2 separate regions of the Homo sapiens genome follow, and region 1 is linked to region 2. The links are contacts of gene promoters, found by promoter capture Hi-C in blood cells and fetal thymus (Javierre and others, 2016). All regions are on one chromosome and are shown on one strand. Each heading gives the region's core, a stretch centred on a gene start or on the middle of the fragment in contact. The rest is flanking DNA. Distances are from core to core; before and after follow the strand shown. Region 1 has its middle 18 kb from the start of CD82-AS1. Region 2 holds the start of ALX4 (ALX homeobox 4).

Region 1 (5,605 bases), core at 1,730-4,229, 310 kb before region 2:
ACCTGGACAACCCCTCTGCCCCAGCTGTCTGTTAAATAAACTCATTAAGCAATCCCTGACGAGGCATTTTAGATCATCACAAGCTACAGATAGTTTCCGTTGGCCTCTTGGAAAAGGTTTTCCTGACCACATAGACAGGAGGCCCAGATCAGTTCCCCTTGTGGGTAGGGGGTGCCTGGTTCTCATTTGCATTCACACTGTGATTGGTTCCCGTGCATCCTCTTGAACTCTGGGCCAGTCAGCCCATGGGACTGGATTCATTCCTCCATGTCCTGGTGGAGTGGCAGCCTCCACAGTGCCCCGGGCAATGAGGACATCAAGGGACAACAGCCAGCCTGGGGACCGGCTTGTCTTACCTTGTGCACTTCCTGGCAGGTAGAGACAGGGCCTTGATCACCTTTGCTGTCCTCTCTGTCCCTGACATGGGGCGCTTTTTCTGCTGTTTTTGTGTTTTTTTCCCTGTGCCTCCCCCACAACTGGACTGTCAGCTCCACAAACTTGTTTACCTTGGTGACCCCTGATTCCTTCCACAGTGCCTGGCATAGAGTGGGTGCCTGATAAATCCTTATTGCATAGATTGATGGAGGAAAAGTTGGGTTTAGTGGACTTGTGCCTCCTTAGAAAAGGCCTACTCCTCTCCTCTTTTTATGAACCAGGGGTCTTCATTCCCATTGGCCTTGAGAACTATTGGAAAGCACACAGAGTCACAGGCCCCAGGGGCCAACCCCAGTTTCTTCAGTCACTGTGACTCTGGACCTGAAGGTGGATTTGTGAATCCAATGTGAATGACTCCTGGATTGTGTAGTTGGTCAGGGCTATGGCAAACAGCTTAGCTTTTCCAAGTTTTGGTTTCCACACTGTAAAGGGGTGGGGGGAGCAAGTGTGTCTACACTGTTGGGGTGTCAGGGTTAAAGCTTAATACTAAATCCTTGGTGGCTGCTGTGACGATGATGATGATTGGGAAGGAGACAGGGTCCCATGGCTGCTGGGGTCCACCATGCCCTCCGCAGTGGCTGCCTGCACTTTCCTCTTGCTGCCCTGCTCCCTCTTTGCCTGCTGCGAGTCCTACCTCACCCCAAAGGGTCAGCCCTGCTCATCTTCCTAGCTCCCCCAGCTGCAGTCCTGCTCATAGCATTATTCTTACTCCCACTCTGTTCCTCCCCTCTGTGGGCTCCCTTGGGTTTAGAGCCTGCCCCTCTGGGGAAGGGCCTTGATATGGTTGGGCTCTGTGTCCCCACCCAAATCTCATCTTGAATTGTACTCCCATAATTCCCATGTGTTGTGGGAGGGATCCAGTGGGAGATAAGTGAATCATGGGGCGGTTTCTCCCACACTGTTCTTGTGGTAGTGAATAAGTCACAGGAGATCTGATGGTTTTATGAGGGGTAACCCCTTTTGCTTGGCTCTCATTCTGTCTTCTCTTGTCTACCACCATGTGAGACGTGCGTTTTGCCTTCTTCCATTATTATGAGGCCTCCCCAGCTACGTGGAACTGTGAGTCCATTAAAACCCTTTCTTTTGTAAATTGCCCAGTCTTGGGTATGTCTTTATCAGCAGGGTGAAAATGGACTAATACAGGCCTCTCTCCTTCCATTTTACCAGACCCCCACTGACCCACCAAGTGGGTTCCTCGACAGCTTCCCCATGGAAAGAACTCAGACACCACCCCAAGCGCCTGAGTCCTCTATGAACCAGGACCAAGAGGATTGGGTGCTGGGATCACAGGGCCCCTGTCACCCTGGAAGCCCCAAGCTGGGCTCACCCAGGTGTGTGATGCAAGGGCAGAGGATGGACCCCTCCACTCCTATCAGCTGCCACTAACATCCCTTCCCGCCCACTCAGTCCTCCAAGAGGCTGCTGGAGACTCTCCAGCTCTCTCCTTCCACTCCCCACCTCCACACAGCCCCTCTGCACTCCCAGCTGTTCTGGCTGGCCGCCCCTCTGCCCCCAGCATCCTGCAGGAAGCCCACTCCTATCCCAGGGGCTACTGCTTAAAGCATCTGAGGTCACTTGGGGAGAGGCACTTGGCTCTGGGCCTGACATTCCCCTTGCTCAGAAGGCAGGTGCTGGGGAAATGATGTCAGATGGGACAGCTGGGGGCCGGGGTGCTCACAGCTCAGATGTCCTCTAATGGCCCTCCTACCTGCTCACCTTCCCACTAGGCAAGAGGCTGAGTACAGGTCTTACCTGCCCCAGCCCCAGCCCCTTGGGCCAATCAGCCATCCCTGCCCCGGAGGCACCAAGGCCCAAAGTCCTCCCGTGGGCCTCATTCCTACTCAGGGAAGGTATCCCCCAGAGGATGGGAAACCTCCCCTTGAAGCTGGGGCCAGTCCTGGAATGGGCTGCTTGGGGAATGAGCTCACTGTGTACGTGACCGCATTTGGCTCCCACAACAGCACTGGGAGTGAGGAATGAGAGTCCCCATTTTCCCGATAAGACTAAGAGAGGTGAAGTTGCACAGCCTGTCACGTCCAGTGGCAGCTGCTCTGATTCTATTTGATTTCAGTTGGGAAGGGGATTGCCAGGGCAATGGCTGATTCCTGCACTGTGGCAGGGGCGATGAGCACTTCCTCCTACTTTCCTGTTTGTTCGACGCGCTGTTCATTCTACTTCCTTCCACAGGAAGGGGCCTTGGATGGGCCCCAGGGATCCCACAGCAGCACTTGGCTCAGACTGTGCTGTCAGCAGTCGGCAGTGTGTGCTGGTACGTACCTGTGTACGTGTGGCAGGGTGTGCTGTGTGCATGCGTGTGCTGTGTGTGCACGTGTGTCCTGGTGCATCAGTTGTGTGCAAGAGTCTCTACACTCATCAGAATGCAGGTGCCATGTGGGCAGGGGGTTTGTGTGTGTTCACTGCTGTGTTCCTAAGATCCTAGAACTGTGCTTCACAAATAGTCTGTGCCATTAAGTATTCATGGGATGAATGAATGAATAAATGAATAAACCTTAGCCTACAGCCTCTAAAGACCCCAGAGAACAGCCAGACATTTGCCCCGAGGCAGCGTAGCAACCTGGGTCTCTGTCCTTCTGCAGGGGAGAAAGGCGATGGGAGCGCTGGCCCAGGAGATGCCTGTTGGCTAGATGCTCCAGCGTCACCAGTGTGCCCCTCCACCCGGCTGCTCTCAGCCTGGGGGACCTGCTCACCTGGAAGATCATCTGGGGCAGAGGCTGGAGGCAGCTCTGCTAGGAGACAGGATGGTGATCAGCGGCAGAGGGGGCTCTGCAGTGTAGGCCCGGGAAGGCCAGGCAGGAAGACACTTGGCTTTCCCTGTTCACTACGGGCCACCCATGGCTTAGTCTCAGGGAAGAAGAGCTAGGGTTCCTCCCAGCTGGGAATGGACTGAGCCCTCAGGGGCCTTCAGGGCCTCGAGTGTGTGCGTGTGAGAGAGTGCATGCATGTATGTGCACATGTATCAGGCTGCCATTCACCAGTACTCACCCAGCCAGCCATACCAGTTATTATGAATAAAATGGAGAAATATTTCCACACCAGTTGAAAATTCCCCCCCAGCTCAATCTCTCAGAGCTCCTGCACCTCCCGCCAATCCATACGTAAGGATCCCATTCCAGCTCAGGCCTGACTTCCATACCTATTGGTCAGTGGCCATGCCAATCAGTGCCCCCCAAAGTCCAGCTCCCTGAACACATCCTAGGCACTGTCTCTAACCTCCCACGGGAGCCCAAAGAGCAACCCTTTGCTCCAGCCATTCTTCCTGGCTGCCCCAGGGAGCTGTGGGTGGGCACTGCCAAGGAGCACCCTTGTACTCTCCTCCACATGGTACCCATGTGCCAGTCCTTTGGGCCTGTCAGGGCCCTTGGCAGGAGAGATGGCAGCCCACAGAGGGCCCAGGGAGGGCAGCTGGAAGGTGTGGAAGCCCCAGATGGGCATGGGACAGATTAGTGGCTGCAGGGACGATTCTGAGTGTTAGACATGGGTCTATGTTCCCTCCCTCCCAAAACCTCACAGGCTGGGAGTAAGTGGGTTGCTGAAACTGGGTGCTCCCCAGGAGGTTGAAATGAGGAACCCAGCAGGCTCAGAGCTCACAGTGACCAGATTTCACAAAAGCGAGGGTCAGAGCCTCACACTACACACGTCCTGGGGCTGTTCTGGGAAATCTGGAAGGGCAGGAGCCAGTGGAGCCAGGAGGATGGTCTTTGAAGTCAGATACGTGGGGTTCAAATCCTGGCTCTGGCCCCTTCCAGCTGTGAGCTCTGGGCAGGATGGACGTGTCAGAGGAAGCAGCCCACCCCTTCGCTAACTTCTGACGTTTTCTCAGTCCTCTATTTTGCAAACAGCTTTGAGCCCACCCTCAGCCTGCCAGGCCCCGTGTCGCACAGGAAGATGGAGATGCAGCTGGACTCAAACTCAGGTCCCCTTGCTCCCAGTGAGAAAGCATTTATGAAAAGACACCCAACAGCTCTCTGCTACCCTTCCTGAGGGTGGAAGCTGTGGGGGGCCAGGGAAGTCAGGCCAGGTGGAACCATCGACATTTTCCTCTCCTGCCCCCATCCCAGAGGGAGGCGACCAAGGCCACAGAGGGACCCACAGCCGACCCCACCGCTGACACCTCCTCAGCTGCCACATTCGCTGAGAGGTCATCACGTGGCTTGGGACAGACATTACTCCAGGTCTGAAAATCTTCCGGAATCAACGCAAAGGGGTGCAAATAGGCAGATTCCTTGTCCCCACCCTAGATCTGCAGCGCCAGAATCCTTGAGCCTTGGAATCTGCATTTTCACAAGTGCTTCCACTGGAGTGGGACGCTGGCAGGCCCCGCGTTGGCGAAACTGGGAGTAACCACGGAACCTTTGGGCTCTGCCGGGCTCCTAGGCTGAGGCTGCAGCGCCGCCTGGTGGTCCCTGCTGAAACACCACTCTAGCCGCCGCCCCGCCTGGCCCCACTGCAGGGAGGCAAGAGTTCCCCTCCCCACTGGCTCCAGAAATGAGAGAAGGTGGGGCAAGTGCCCTCTGGACTTCATGACGCCGGGCAAGGGGCATGCTGGGGCTCAGTCGTCAGAGCCGTGCACAAGTAAGAGCAAGCTTCTTTTTCTTTTTCTCTCTCTCTCTCTGTCGTTTTCTTTTTCTTCCTTTCTTCTTTTTTGACAGATTCTCGCTCTGTTGCCCAGGCTGAAGTGCAGTGGCACAATCTTGGCTCACTGCAACCTCCATCCCCCGGGTTCAAGCAATTCTCCTTTCTCAGCCTCCTGAGTAGCTGGCATTACAGGCGTGCACCACCACACTCGGCTAATTTCTGTATTTTTTGGAGAGATGGGGTTTCACCATGTTGGCCAGGTTGGACTCGAACTCCTGACCTCAAGTGATCCACCTGCCTCAGCCTCCCAAAGTCTCACATTTCATCTTAAAAAGTCCCCTGAATTCTGCACATCTTACTCCATCACATTTCTTTAGTATGAAAATGTTTCCTTCCACAAATCTTTGCAGAAACGGATGCTCTAGAAAGCGATGCCAAGTTTATCCTGTGGCTTCCCTGTCCCCCATCACCAGCCCACTTTTGTGCAGCTTCTGGGGGCACCCATACCCTAGTTTCAGAAGCAGGAATTGAGAGGTACAATCTATACCTCTCTTAGCACCAAATCAAACTCCAG
Region 2 (5,476 bases), core at 1,145-3,644:
AGGCACGTAGGAGGCTGCCCTGGGGCAACTAGTGGGGTTGAGATACACTCATAGCCAGGCAACCAGACAACCACGAGATCTGGGACGGAGATGAGGCAAACGGAAGCGTCAACTTAAACTAGGAGAGACGGGAAGTCTTCCTAGAGGAAGATGCTCTAGGCTGAACTCTGAATCATTAGCCAGACAAAAGTGCAGGAATGAGTTTAGGGAATTCCAGGTAGGGGAAACCACCTATGCTACAGTGCACAGGCTAGAGACCTTGGCAGGTTCTAGGAACTTGAAGAAACCGCTGGACAGGAGCATTTAGGATGATGGCAGGAGCACTCCGCTTTTTGCTAACTGGAAAATTATTTTGGTTGAGTCTCAGTCTACCCATATGCAAAATGGGTATGATAAGCCTTGTATTGCCAGATTGTTGGCACAACAGGAGCTCAATAAATAAAGGACTCTCAAGTGGCTTAGGTCTGCGGGCCAGTGAGGCGCGGTTCCCATTGGGCATGGAGTGGGGGGCGGCTGGAGCCTGCGCGCTCCTGGCTTGGTTTGCGGAATATCTTTATTAACGAGCACTTCAAGGTAAGCCGGCGATGGAAACCAGATGTGGGATCGCGCGGTCGGCGGCGGAGCAAGGACCAGAGATACTAAGGGGGTAGGGTGGGGGTAAGAATTAGCCCAGATGAGATTGGGAGCAGAAGCGCGACCCCCCAGGTATATTTTTTCTTTGGGAGACCTTAGATGCAGAAAGTTGACATCTGACCCACATTCCTTGGTTCACGGTGCTCAGGCCCTCTTTAATTTTACCTTGCACTTTTACCTCTCACCCTACTCCCAGACTCCCTAGAGGTACGTTCTCGCTTAACGATTTTCTCAGCGGTTTAAGGAAGGCTGCTCTCGCTGGTCTCCTTCAACTTGAACCATTCCACAGCCGGGGGCCAGTTTCCCCTCTGCATCTACGCTGTCCGCACGGCCTTCCAGGTCGGTGGAGGGACTAGCCTGAGCAGAGGTTCCAGGGCGCGACGGCTATTTCCCAGCTGTGTGACCTGGACCAGGTGGCCGCCCCTCTCTGAGCCTCCGTTAGCTCATCAGAAAATTGGGGGCGCCAATCTCTAGCACGGTTGTCATGAAGCGAAATCGAGGGGCTGCACGCGCAAAGTTTTTTCCCTTGCTGTGGCGGTGCCAGGGGCCTTGAGGCTCGCAGTGGTGGTGAAACCACAACCTATCAAAACCAAGCAGTTCGTTTTACAGTCGGGGGCAGTGAGGCCAGAAAGGGAAGAGACGGTCTCACCCCTCTCCCCGACCCCTGACCCCAAGGAGTGAACAGGTGACAGCGCGACTATCGGGCAAGGTCAGGGGGTCTCCAGAGTCCGCTCTCTGTACTTCGCCTGGCAGGAAATCCCCTCGCCTGGGCGCAGACGTGGGGCGTGAACGGTGCGGCCTCTAGACGGGAGCGCAGAGGGCAGCGCTCTAAAGCTTCTGAAGCCGGGCCCAGCCCAGGGCTTCTCCAGGGCTTGAGGGAGCACAGATTCCGCTACATCCCAGCCCAGCGCCCTTACAGCAGAGGGAAATAGTTAACAAGACGTGCAAGTGACCATGCACTGGACGACGAAGGCTTGTGTGTGTGTTAATCTCCCGTAGGAACGGGAATGGGGAGGAAGGTTGGAAACCTAGGAAAAGGTGCCAGCGGGAAGGCCCGCAGCGGCGCCCGCGAGCTCGCGCGCAGGAGTCCGTAGGACTCGCTTGCATCCGCAGGCCCGTGGTCCCCCTGGCTTCGAATGTCAAAACCTGTTAGGTTTATTTTGGGGGGCTTTTTTTTAACCTGTCATTAAAATTTGCATTTCCCTTTGCCCTAAGGCAAAGCTCCGACACCCCGCCAATTCTCAGCCTAGCCTCGGGAGCCCTGGGGATCCTGGCATCTCCCCAGCCCCGCCTAGAATCGGAAAAGCCCTCGGGCGCCTCCGGGTTGAATCCCCGCTAGCGAGTTAGTAGCATCTCCTTAAGAGTGGAGAGGAGGGGGCAGGGGCCAGTGGAAGGAGAGAGGAGGAGGGGACGAGAGAGGGGGAAAGGAAGAAGCAAGGCAGGGAAAAAAATTTACTTATTTTTTTTTTCCGCTGCAAAACCTTAAGAGGGTTTGGGAGATCTGGTCAACTTTCCGAAACATCTGAATCTTTTTACTGCCCTCCGTTCTTTCCCTCGGCTAGCTGTGGGGAGGGAGGAAAGAGAGAGAGGGAGAGAGAGAGGAAGGGGGGGGGAGGGAGGGGAAGAGAGAGAGAGGAGGGAGAGAGAGGAGAGAGACAGAGAAAGAAGAGGGGGAGAGAGAGAGAGGCCGGCGTGGAGGGGAGGAGGGAGAGCGAGCAGGCCGGGCAAGGAGTGCACAGCCACAGCCTCCTCGCCTCCCCAAACTCCCAGCCAAGGCGCGCGGTGGCGTCCTCGCGCCCTCGCTCGCGTCCCCGCCCGCCGCCTGCGCAAGCCAGGCATGAATGCTGAGACTTGCGTCTCTTACTGCGAGTCGCCGGCCGCTGCCATGGACGCCTACTACAGCCCGGTGTCGCAGAGTCGGGAGGGCTCGTCGCCTTTTAGGGCATTTCCCGGAGGCGACAAGTTCGGCACAACTTTCCTGTCGGCCGCCGCCAAAGCACAGGGATTCGGGGACGCCAAGAGCCGGGCCCGTTACGGCGCTGGGCAGCAGGACCTGGCGACACCCCTGGAGAGTGGAGCTGGGGCGCGGGGCTCCTTTAACAAGTTCCAGCCCCAGCCGTCGACCCCGCAGCCCCAGCCGCCGCCGCAGCCGCAGCCGCAGCAGCAGCAGCCGCAGCCCCAGCCGCCCGCGCAACCGCATCTTTACTTGCAGCGAGGCGCCTGCAAGACGCCCCCGGACGGCAGCCTCAAACTCCAGGAAGGCAGCAGCGGCCACAGCGCGGCCTTGCAGGTTCCCTGCTACGGTGAGTGCACGTGCGGGTCACCTGGTGCTGGGGACCACGGGGTGCTTGGCTTCCGCATCCCTTGAAACTGGTGGCTTGCGGGAGGTATGAGTTGGCGGGCTGGGGGCGGGGTGGTGACTCTGGTCGGTAAACGGGATCGATCGCTGCGAGGGAGCCAAGGGATCTGTTCTGTCTCCTTCTTGTCCGCCGGCCTAGGCACGGAGCGTTTCGGCTGTTAAACTCGACTTGGAGTTTGTTTTTCCCGGTCCCTTCGGCATTTCCCCAAACCGCTCGCTTTGCGCTGCCCGCTGGGCGGGATTTGAAGCGGATGCTTCTTACCGGCCCAGGGCGTGCGGCGGCAAGGAGTCTCCGCGCAGCGCTCTGGCGCTGGGCTGCGGGGCTGCGGGGCTGCGGGGCTGCGGGGCTGCGGGGCTGCGAGGCTGCGGGGCTGCGGGGCTGCGGGACAGCAGGACTGCAGAAGCCTCGCTCCTCGCCGGCTGGGAGGCTCCTCGGGCGGCGCCGCCGCAGGTGAGAGCGCCGCAGGTGCGGAGCCAGGCGGGAAGCCCGGAGCGTGGTTGGCCGAAAGCTCACGGGAAATCCAGGCGCACTGGCGCAACACAGTGCGGAGCCAGAGACCCTAGGGTCCCAGGGGACACTGTGGTCTGGCAAGACCCGAGTCCTGGGACCCTGAGCGCTACTGGCAGTGGGGATGCGGGCAGGCCAGTTCCCCTGGAGCTTCTCCCTCGGCGATTCTTGGAGGCGGCAGGCCTCTGAACAATGGTTTAGGACAGAGTAGGAAGGGAGACAGGAAGTCCCGAGTCCCAGGTGGCCCAGAGCTGTGGCAAGAGAGAAGGGTCTGGGTCCTGATTTGAGCCCACGGGGAACCCGGGGGAGCTGGCCTAAATGACCTCCAAGCTGCCTTGAACGCAGCCACAGGAGGCAGGCCTGGGCCCCCCAGAGCACAGCCACCATTGCCCGGGAGAGAGAGACACTCAAGGACGTCTCTAGCCAGAGCAGCTCAGTAGCCTAGGCCTTCTCTTCTTCCAGAGAATCGGGGTTCCTGAACCCCAAAGCGGAAGGGGAAGCAAAGACGCAGAAAGGGAAAAACCTTCTCTGGGCCAGGAGTCCTGAGCACATACCCGGAGGCCTTGGCCTTCAGGTCCGGCCCTGGTGGGAAGAGTTGGGGGCAGGGAATTTGCCCTGATCCAGGCTGATGGAGAGGCACTAGGCCTGGGGACAGAGGCTGGGACACGGCGGAGGCCTTGGTGGCTAGAATAACTTTGGGAAAACAGCCGATGGCAGATATTTTCTCGTATTCAGGTTCCTTCTTTCACAGGCGCAGAACTAGTTCATAGATGGCTGCTGACAAACATTCACAGTCATATGCTTGTCTACAATTGCACTCTACACACACACACGCAGAGAGCATCTTCTTTAGGAGCCGATGTGGTCATACCCCAAGAACACATGCCCATGTGGCCTCGAATGAGCCACATACTCCCAAACCCATAGGACAGAACTGAGAGAAGATTTAGAAAGATTCAGTGGCCCTTCCCCACTTCCTCCACCTTCCTCTTCACCTCCAGTTGGAATGAGATCAGGCATTCAGATCACAGACCCCCAAGGCTCCACACACAGACACCCACAGCTCCACATGCAGGCACACACAGTTCCACACACAGACACCCACTGCTCCACACACAGACACCCACAGCTCCACACACGGACACCCACAGCTCCACACACGGACACACACAGCTCCACACATGGACACACACAGCTCCACACACAGACACACACAGCTCCGCACATGGACACACACAGCTCTCATACAGGCACTCTTTCCGTGCTAAGCCAGCAGAGACTCTCAGCCCTGTCCGTACTGGCTGTCCTTCCCAGCCCAGGGATGCAGGCCCCAGCTCGTCCCTGTCATTCAGGACTATTAGGTGAGGGCAGGTCGCAGACTAGGGGACCCATGGAGGTTCATCCTGCATAGCCAGAGAGCTCATGCTCTCTCTCCACTGCATTGAATTTTCATATTTTAATGAAAATTACCAGTGAGACCTCTGAAGAGGCTGATACATTAGGCAAGAAGAGAGCCTAAGGAGCTCCCCACCTCTTGGTTAAATGCCTTCAGGTCCAGAGGGAAGGCGGAGAGGCCTGGCCTCCCCTGAGCCCTCTCTCTGTGTCCTGCTGGGCCCCCACAGCCAGCCTGGCCCTTCCTCTACTTGCACTAGCCTTTGGAGCTGACGGAAAGGGCCAGCCACTTGACCCGCTACTGCCCCTAACCCGTGGCAGTGTGACCTGACAGCAAACACCTTCCCAAACCCCGGTTTCCTCATCTGCATCCTGGGGTGATAACAGAAAGGCCTTACTGGGTCATAAATGTGCCTCTGCAGAGACAGCAAGAGGCAAGAGCAAGAGCCCCCGCTACCCCTGCCCCTCCCAACCCCCACCCACATTTCCATCCCTATCTATCTCCGAGCCGCTGGGAACTCGAGAGCACCCAATTCTGAGGACAGGGCAAGTCCCTGCCACTGCTCTGGGTCATAAACTGCAGG

Evidence for each region. Contacts are between HindIII fragments. The CHiCAGO score rates a contact against its expected background, and 5 or more counts as called.
Region 1: a fragment that was not itself captured here is called in contact with the fragment with the promoter of ALX4 in region 2 in 2 of 17 cell types (total B cells and naive B cells); the score reaches 5.7 in total B cells.

Annotation. Positions count from the first base shown.
Region 1 is chr11:44,620,561-44,626,165 of GRCh38, reverse strand. No RefSeq gene overlaps it. Among named protein-coding and RNA genes, the nearest start is that of CD82-AS1, 18 kb to the right of the region's middle. The HindIII fragment of the contact is 4,125 bases long and covers 917-5,041 here.
Region 2 is chr11:44,307,057-44,312,532 of GRCh38, reverse strand. ALX4 (ALX homeobox 4) reads left to right here and starts at 2,394. Exons shown (of 4, transcript NM_021926.4): 1 at 2,394-2,936. The coding sequence starts at 2,471. RefSeq lists an enhancer at 1,488-2,416. The HindIII fragment of the contact is 7,283 bases long and covers 1,470-5,476 here.